Linked DNA regions of Homo sapiens: regions 1 and 2 are each linked to region 3. Evidence: promoter capture Hi-C in 16 types of primary human blood cells and fetal thymus (Javierre and others, 2016). All regions are on one chromosome and are shown on one strand. Each heading gives the region's core, a stretch centred on a gene start or on the middle of the fragment in contact. The rest is flanking DNA. Distances are from core to core; before and after follow the strand shown.

Region 1 (2,800 bases), core at 283-2,782, 410 kb before region 3:
GGGAAGGTGGCTCTGGGCCCTCTGGATAGAGCAGGAGCAACCAAGTGGCTAGACAATGTGCCCAGGGCCGGGGCATGGGTTGGGGGGGTGCCTGAGCAGGAGAGCCAGAGGGCCAGGGAATAGTAGCTCTGGGGAGCTGTGTCTGGGAGCCACATCTGGGTGTGGGGGGACAGCTTTATAGGCCCAGCTCAGAAGGGTCCCACAGTGACCTAGGCCCTCTGGGATCTGGGATGGAGTGGGACTGCCTCAAAGCTGTCATTGTCGCTCCCTCACCCGCCTGACTGTCTGGGACTTAAAATAGCAGGAGCACAGCGGATCTCCTGAGAAGTTTCTGGCAAAGAGGTTTAGGGGGGGAGGGTGTGAGTCGCCGCTGGGAACTCTTGAGTTTGAAGCTCCCAAAGCCCAGCTGCTCCACCCCTGCCCCCAGGGAGCCTAGAATCCATGGGCGGGGCAGGTGGGGGGTCCTCTGTTCCCTCCCTGTCCTGCTGTGGGAGTGGGGAGACTGGGTCCTGCCCCAGCTCTGCCATGGAAGCACCGGCTAGATGGCTGGGCCAAGTCCTGCCCCCTTCGGACCTCAGTTTCCCAGATGTACCAGGAGTTGCGGACCTCAACATCTGCTGAGAGGTCCCTGGAGTTCATGGCAGGTGGTCCCAGTACAGACACCCAGAGTCAGACAGCCATGGGCTGAAATCCCAGTTCCACTCCTACTGGCTGAGTGGCTCTGAGCAAGTCCTCCCAGCTCTCCGGGTGAGTTTCTTCACCTGTAAATTAACAATGAAACCAAGTCCTGCTCGTTCCAAGCTTCAGATTGCGCTATCCGGTAAGGATCCTGGCAGCTCCTGGGCAACTGCCCCCCAGCCCCAGCCTCCACCCCATCCTCAGATGGCACATTTTGTGCTGCCAGGAATGTTAACAGCAACGTGACCCCACTTTTAATGCCATGTACTTTACACACACTACCTCTGGCTTCCACGCCCTGGAGGACAGAGCTGGCTACTGTCCCCAGCGCTCTCCTGGGACATCCTTAACCTCAGTACTGGCCACTCCTGGACGGAAGGGGTATTGGCTCCTGAGGGGGCCCTCTTGGGCATCTACCGTGTGCCAGGCCCTGTGCTTGGCTCACCCCTGGAGTCCTGTGGGGCAGGGCTGATGCTCCCGGTTGTGCAGATGGGGAGACAGGCTCGTTGCTCCCCTGTATCAAAGAGGTGCAGGGACCCCTTGCAGTTCGCAGTCCGCAGGGCGCGGGGCCGGGCTCTGGGCCGCGCGGTGCGTGTGGCTGGCGCGCCCTCTAGTGGCCGCTCTGCCTGCCGTGTTGCCCCGCGCGAGAGCTGCCCTAGAGTGGACGCGCAGCCGCTGGCGCGGGAAGTCCCTTCTCCCAGCCCGCCGCGGTCCCGCCTGCTGCGGCTCCACCTCCGCCGAACTGCAAGCGGTCTGGCCTGCCTGTCAGTCCTCGTGGCTTCGCAGGGACCCCACCATGGCCGCACGCCCCGCCCCGATTACCATGGAGACCGCCTGTACACAGTTTCCTCTTTCCTCTGCCCAGTCCTGGGGTCCCGCGGCCGCCTAGGAGGGAGCCCGCCGGGGCGGGGCGGGGCCGGGTGCCCATGAACAGCGGGGTCCCGGCCACGCTGGCCGTGCGGAGAGTGAAATTCTTCGGCCAGCACGGCGGGGAGGTGAGGTCCAGCGGGCTCTGCCCAGACTCCCGGCTTTGGATGCAGAGTGGTTCCTGGTTCTGTGTAGTGGGGGTTCCAGAATGTTCTCTGGGCAGTGGCTCAGGACATTGAGTCCAGAGTAGACTTTGCTAACCCAAGAAGGATCGAAGTAGGTTCTCAGCTCCAGTGCCGGGCCCCAGCTCCAGAGCAGCTCTAGGTTCTAAGCTCTGCCTGTAAAAAGAGCCCCGGGCTCTGGGCTCTGCCTCGAGAGGGGCACAAAGCTCCCTGCTGACTCTGGTGTTTTCTGGGGCCCTGGCTCTAAAGTGAACTCAGAACTTAGAGTAGATTCTGGACTCTCCGTTGTCAGCTGCGGCTCTGGAATGGGCTCTTAGCTCTGGGGTTCCAGGCTCTGGTTCCAGAGAAGGCTCTTGCCTCCAACTGCAGGCTCTGGCTTTACGGGACTCGAGAGAGGGCCCAGTGGGTCCCGGGTTCTGGGCTCTGGTGGTGGAGTGAGGCTTGAAGTCAAGCTCCAACCCCAGGCTCTTGGGGGGCAGTGTTTAGGGGTCAGAGATGAGCGGACAGGGGTTTCTTCCCCAGAATGGGACCGCTTTTGTGCTGTTTCTAGGTCAACTCTTCTGCCTTCTCCCCTGATGGCCAGATGCTGCTCACAGGCTCAGAAGATGGCTGCGTGTATGGCTGGGAGACCCGGAGTGGGCAGCTGCTGTGGAGGCTGGGTGGCCACACAGGTGGGGCTCCCACACCTGGCCGGGAAGACCGAGGCACAAGGGTCTGGCATGCTGCAGAGCTGACTGCAGTGACCTCCGATGAGCTGGGCACGGGTGCAAGGCAGGGCTGGGCAGGTTGGGAGATGGGACGAGATATCTGGGTGCTGGGGCTTAGACTCTAACAGGCCTGGACTCAGCCTTCTTTAAAAACACACACACACACACACATACATACAAAAACAACTGTAATGTAACACAGTAATACTTACTGTTGCATCCTTTTTTGTGTGTGACAGAGTCGCTCTCTGTCACCCAGGCTGGACAACCTCGGCTCACTGCAACCCCCGCCTCCTGGGTTCAAGCAATTCTCTGCCTCAGCCTCTCGAGTAGCTGGAATTATAGACACCTGCTACCACACCCAGC
Region 2 (2,988 bases), core at 127-2,626, 390 kb before region 3:
GCCTGTCCCCTCCCCCCGCACGGGTGGGGGCAGGGTTGGAGGCCCATGCTGTACATAAATCAGGTTCTCGGTGTTGAACCAGTTGACTCAGCTTGGAAAGTGGGGCCTGCTGCTTTAGGGGGAGCCCGGCAGTGCTCCTGAGTGTGCCTTTAAACCGAAAACCTTCAGACTTGATTTGAACAGGAATGTGTTTTCCGAAGTGGAGATTCAAGCTTGTAATTCCTGCCCCATCAGGATCTCCCAATCCACCCTCCTTATGAAATGGGGTCAAGGGAAGGGTCCCCAGGAGGGAAGGTTGGTTGTAGTCTGGTGTAGGGCCTAGTTCATGGACAGTCAGTGCTGAAAGGGGCTCCAGGGTCAGGCCTTTGGCCCAGGACTCTCATTGAACAGATGAGATCAAGCCTGTCAGCTGCTGCCTTGGTCTGGGTGCAGAACCTTGTTGAAGGTCATGTCTTGGGACTCCCCTGCCTGGTGACAGGTTCCTTGAGGCTGCTTAGAGGCCTGGGCTTAGCACATCCAGGGGATGGTCGTTTCTCCATTCATGGCAGCGTCAGAAGCGTCAGAAACCTTGTTACCATGGAGAGTGCTCCACTTGGGGTTGGGGAAAGGGAGGTTAACGGATAAAGGTAACTGAAACCCTGGCAAATACGGGGCCCAGGTGGAGGAGAATGGAACTGATATTTATTGAGTCTCTATCATGTACCAAGAATCGGACTTATATTAGACCATTGAGGACAGGGGAGCAGGGAGAGGGATAGATGGATTGGGGTTGGGGAGGGCAGAGAGGGGCCCTGTCCTGGGGCTGTATAGGGAAGTGTGTGTGGCAGGAGATGACACAGATGGAGTAGAAGGAACCCGGCTGTGCATCTGCGCACACCCTGCACTACCATGCTCTGGCTCTGTGACCTCGGATAGGTCGCATACCCTTTCACAACTCAGCATCTTCTGTTACGTGGCGGACAGCCATGCTGGCTTCCTAGATTCCGTGGGAGCCTCATGGGCTAACATCAGCATCACTGGGCACACAGCAAGTGTCCTGGACATGCAGCTCGGGTCTGCAGATAGAGCGGCAGCATGGGATTGTGGGAGGAGCTTGGGTGTGAGGGCCGTGTAGACAGCTTAGTTTTGTGACCTTGCGCAGGTAATTTCTGTTCTCTGAGCCTCAATTCCATTGCCTTTAAAATGAGATAATGATTATTGTCACAAGGATTTTTGGAATGAGATGGCGTGTGAAAGCACCTGGCACAGGATCCGAGACCTTGTGGCGATTTAAAAGTATGAGTTCCTTTCCCCTTCAGTGAAGCAGCTTCTATACTTCTGGATCAGGGCTCTGTCCAGAGCAGTGGTTGTGAGCGATTTTGCACCCTTCCCCTCCACCCCCAGGAAACTGGAGACATTTTGATGGTTACAGCTTGGGGATGCCACTGGAATCCAGTGGGCAGAGGCCTATGACACACAGCTAAGATCCCACGTCAGAGAATCCTGGGTCCACAGTGTCAGTTGTGCCGTGATTGAGGAAGATCTAGAGGAGATCAAGGGCTGGGCAGGATTCCCTCAGCACCACAGCCTGTTCTCTGAAAAGGCCTAAAGCCAGCCAAGTATGACAGCCGGCTTCACAAATGATAGGTGACTTCAGGGAGGTCCTCCCTGCGCCCCACATCTCCCAACTGCTGAAGGCCCTCACCCATCAATGGGCCGAGTGATTGCTGGACGCGTGGTGCTGAGTTAACGCCACAGCAGTAGCTTTTTGCCCCCGTGGACTAGTTTTATACCTGCCCTTCCCCATCCATCATTTGAATGATGTCATTTGTTAGTTGTGCCAGGTTTACATGAAGAGCAAGTGAGCCTATGTTTTCTGTTCAGCCTATGGGATCCTGCTTATTGCTTTGGGGACACCACATTAGAAAAGAGTTACAAGGGCTGGGCGCGGTGGCTCACACCTGTAATCCCAGCACTTTGGGGAGGCCGAGGCGGACAGATCACGAGGTCAGGAGATCGAGACCATCCTGGCTAACACAGTGAAACCCCGCCTCTACTAAAAATACAAAAAAAATTAGCTGGGCGTGCTGGCGGGCGCCTGTCGTCCCAGCTACTCAGGAGGCTGAGGCAGGAGAATGGCATGAACCTGGGAGGCGGAGCTTGCAGTGAGGCAATATTGCGCCACTGCACTCCAGCCTGGGCGACAGAGCGAGACTCCGTCTCAAAAAAAAAAAGGAGTTACAAAGTAGAGGTTATCAGTGGCTGATATCAGGCTGGCCTTGTTTGGATGGGGAAAAGGAACTCCAGAACTGAAAGACAGAGGGACTGGACTGCCTCTTGAGTGTGGAAGGTGGATCAGAGCCAAGCAGGGAGCTGGGGAACCAGCGCTGGGAGTGGCTTGCCTGGTGGCGCAGACCCAGCTCACTCAAGATGGATCTCATACTGGGGAAGCCAGGAGATTCAGCTCTGCTCCGAAGGCCCTTCCTGTCTGCACGTGGGTATCACTGCATGAAGAGGAGTAGAGACCCGATTGGGCAGAAGCCATTCCTTGTTCTATTTTTGAAGCTTTTTGGCTGAAGCCAGTGTTTCATACGAGGAAATGAAAGTTGGCTGATGTAATTCAGTTTAAAATAGGTGTCACCTTTGGGGACCTAACCCAGATTGTAATTTTCTTTTGCATGCTGGGTATTCAGAACTCAGCAAAGAATGTGTTGTCAGGATTGCAACTGAGGTTGGGGGGTAAGGGTGGAGACTGGCTCATTGTTGGCAAAAGCTTCTGTTAGATTGATAAACTCTTTCCAGGTAACAGTTGGGACCTCATTGATCCCGATAGATCTTAGAAGTTCTAGCACATCTTAATTTCCTTAATAGTTTAATTGATGAAGAGCATTGATGAAGAGTTAGGAGGTCTCCCTTTGTACCTACATTTTCCGCTTTTTTAGAATGAGAAGATGAGAACGACCTCCAGTTCACATGTACGGGTGCTGTGAGGATCCAGTAGGGGAGATA
Region 3 (3,027 bases), core at 50-2,549:
TTGACATTTGAAATAGCTGGGGAAATGATTATTACTTTTTTCCTTTTTTTGCCTGGAGACTCCCAGTATTGGAGGATATAATCATTGTTCTCAATTTTTTGAAGATCTGTCAAGTGGAAGACATTCTGTATTGCTCCAGGCAGCCTAACTACCAGCAATGGAAGGAAATAAAGGGAAACAGATTTCAGCTCAGCAGGAGGCAGAACTTTCTAACATTTAGAGCTGTCCAACAGTGGAGCAGGCTGCATTACTTGAGGGAGTGAGCTCCCTGAAATTTGAACTGTTGAACAGGAAGATGACCATCTGGCTGAATGTACAGGAGGGAATTCCTGCCTGGGCAACAGTTGCACTAGTGACCTTTAAGCAGGTATCTTCCAATTTTAAGGTTTCTAGACTGTTCAACTCAGCTAACTTGACCTCTGAATATATGAGTTATGGTGTTACAAAAATTATTAGACAGTTCATTTATTGACTTACCTAAAATAACTGCATGGTGAAGTTTATGATAAGCAAGATTTTAGAAACTGAGAAGTGGGAAGGCAGGTTTTACACTGAAAATCCAGATACCATCCAAACCAATTAATGGCACTTAGAACAAAAGGGAAGGGAGGGGCCGGCAGCGGTGGCTCACGCCTGTAATCCCAGCACTTTGGGAGGCCGAGGCGGGCGGATCACGAGGTCAGGAGATCGAGACCATCCTGGCTAACACGGTGAAACCTCGTCTCTACTAAAAATCAAAAAATTAGCCGGGCGTGGTGGCGGGCGCTTGTAGTTCCAGCTACTTGGGAGGCTGAGGCGGGAGAATGGCGTGAACCCGGGAGGCGGAGCTTGCAGTGAGCCGAGATTGAGCCACTGCACTCCAGCCTGGGCGACAGAGCCAGACTCCGTCTCGAAAAAAAAAAAAAAAGGGAAGGGAGGTTTGTAAGTAGTGTGTGCGTACGTGTGAGAGAGAAACAGAGAAGAGAGAGAGTCATTCATGCGAATAATGTGTCCTGGGCAACTGAGCGTTGTCACAGAAAGCATAAAACGCTCTACATTTTTGCTTTACACATACTTGCTCAGTCGGATTCTTCACGTCCAGCATTACTGCAGGCGGAAACCAGGGCCCAGGCCTGGTGAACAGCCTTCCGGAAGACGATTCCGGACCCGGACACCCACGACAGCCTCAGGGGGCAGCTGACCTAGGGCTGCCTAAGGCGGAAGTGGGAGCCCCTAGCCGCCCGGGCGGAACTACAGCTCCCAGAGGCCCCCGCGGCGCTGCGCACGCGCGCTGGCGTGGCGGCAGCGCCGCTGCAGGACGCAGGGAAGCCAACAGGCGAGTGGCGAAGGTGGCGGCAGCGGCGGCGGGGGCAGTCACCGGCTAGGGCGACGGCTCCGAGGCCGAGTGGCGGTCCGACAGAGTCCTCCGTGTCCTCCCCCGCATGACCCCCTTGGTGAGTACGCGTCCCGATTTAGTCCGCGGGCTGTGAGCGGCTCCCTGCCTCGCGGCCGGGTTGCTCCGGCCTAGGGCCGCAGCCTGTCTCTGACTGCCCGGCCGTCAGGTCCAACTGACCCCGGGGTCCTGGGCTCTTCCCGTCAGTGTCGGGCGAGGTGGGGGTCGGGGGACACTGGGTTAGACCCAGGGGAGAGATGTGGCGGCGCGCAGGAGCCAGGGCGGCCTGGGGCTGAGGAGAGGGAGAGACGCGTGGGGGATGGGATGGGAAGGGACAGGAGGACCGCGGGGCGGCCTCGGGTGGGGGCCAGAGACGAGAGGCCCGGCAGGTAGGGAACTGAGTATAGGAGGCGAGAACGAAATGGAATGTCTTCTGAGTGTCGCTGATAAAGATATCGTGCTGCAGGGAAGCTTGACAAGCTGGACACACGGGTCTGGGGGCAGCCCACCTAACACAGACACTCACTGTACTTGGCATCTTTCCACTTGCTGTCGGAGGTCTGAAAGTGAGGGAGCTGTTGGTTGTTTCCATCCCTTTTCTTTTAACTTCACCTTTTATTGACTGGCAAAATTGTAGTGAGTGCTGGCTAGGCAAACCACAGAAGTACACCCAGGGTTCTGTGTATAAATGTGCATAAAAACAGGGAGACATAGTGATAGGTTCAGATGAGAACTAGGTCAAAGGAGGAATCAGTGTTTTTATTTTTAAATTTATGACGAAAATCAGTTCTGAGCAGGACTTTGAACTAGAGAGGGGTTTTAAACTGGAGTTCATTGATGGATAGAATTAGAAGGGTCCTTTCACTAGAAGGAGGATAAAATGACATCATTATTTTTATTGACTGCTAACTGAAACTTATTATTTCCTTCAGTTACGAATGTGGACAACAAGCCAGAGTAGCATTAGCAGCGCCTATGACTTTGTGATCAATAAAAATTACGGATATTTTTGCATCATGTTTACAGTTGCAGATAGCTCAGAATATCATTTATGGTTAACACTTCTTTGAATTTCTGGTGTTACTAGACCCGCCGTTAGACATTGTTATTTAATGTGATAATAAGGCTGTACATATATTATGACCATATTAGTTTGTTGTTTTGCTAATATTTCCATATAATTGGTTTCCCTTGTAATCACATGTATTTAATTATGCACTTAAAAGAAATCTGAGAAAGGGACCATAGGCTTCACCAAACTGCCAATGAGGTCCGTGCACAAAAAGATTAAGAACTCCTGAAATAATTTGGGAGGCCGAGGCGGGCGGATCATTGAGGTCAAGAGATCGAGACCATCCTGGCCAACATGGTGAAACCCCATCTCTACTAAAAATACAAAAATTAGTTGGGTGTGGTGGCCCATGCCTGTAATCCCAGCTACTTGGGAGGCTGAGGCAAGAGAATCACTTGAGCCCGGGAGGTGGATATTGCAGTGAGCCAAGATCACGCCACTGCACTCCAGCCTGGCAACAGAGCGAGACTCCGTCTCAAAAAACAAAACAAAACAAAAAAACTCCTGAAATAGAAATAAGGTTTTTTGGATTTATAAGTCTACTTAGAAGAACTGTTGTTTTTTTTTTTTTGGTTGTAAGTTT

What was found. The method cuts DNA at HindIII sites, captures the fragments that hold promoters and counts their contacts. A CHiCAGO score of 5 or more calls a contact.
Region 1: a contact is called between the fragment with the promoter of WDR38 here and the fragment with the promoter of GAPVD1 in region 3, in 1 of 17 cell types (fetal thymus). The highest score is 6.5, in fetal thymus.
Region 2: a fragment that was not itself captured here is called in contact with the fragment with the promoter of GAPVD1 in region 3 in 1 of 17 cell types (fetal thymus); the score reaches 6.9 in fetal thymus.

The regions. Positions count from the first base shown.
Region 1 is chr9:124,851,928-124,854,727 of GRCh38, forward strand. It overlaps WDR38 (WD repeat domain 38), which reads left to right and starts at 1,533. Exons shown (of 9, transcript NM_001045476.3): 1 at 1,533-1,673; 2 at 2,278-2,398. The coding sequence starts at 1,605. RefSeq lists a silencer at 1,585-1,634. The HindIII fragment of the contact is 17,878 bases long and covers 800-2,800 here.
Region 2 is chr9:124,870,395-124,873,382 of GRCh38, forward strand. The region is part of intron 3 of ARPC5L (actin related protein 2/3 complex subunit 5 like); the gene reads left to right. Among named protein-coding and RNA genes, the nearest start is that of ARPC5L, 9.8 kb to the left of the region's middle. RefSeq lists enhancers at 452-501, 2,140-2,640, 2,338-2,567. The HindIII fragment of the contact is 2,332 bases long and covers 211-2,542 here.
Region 3 is chr9:125,260,527-125,263,553 of GRCh38, forward strand. It overlaps GAPVD1 (GTPase activating protein and VPS9 domains 1), which reads left to right and starts at 1,300. Exons shown (of 28, transcript NM_001282680.3): 1 at 1,300-1,433. It also overlaps the pseudogene RPS10P17. RefSeq lists silencers at 1,197-1,378, 1,317-1,446. The HindIII fragment of the contact is 7,780 bases long and covers 1-1,841 here.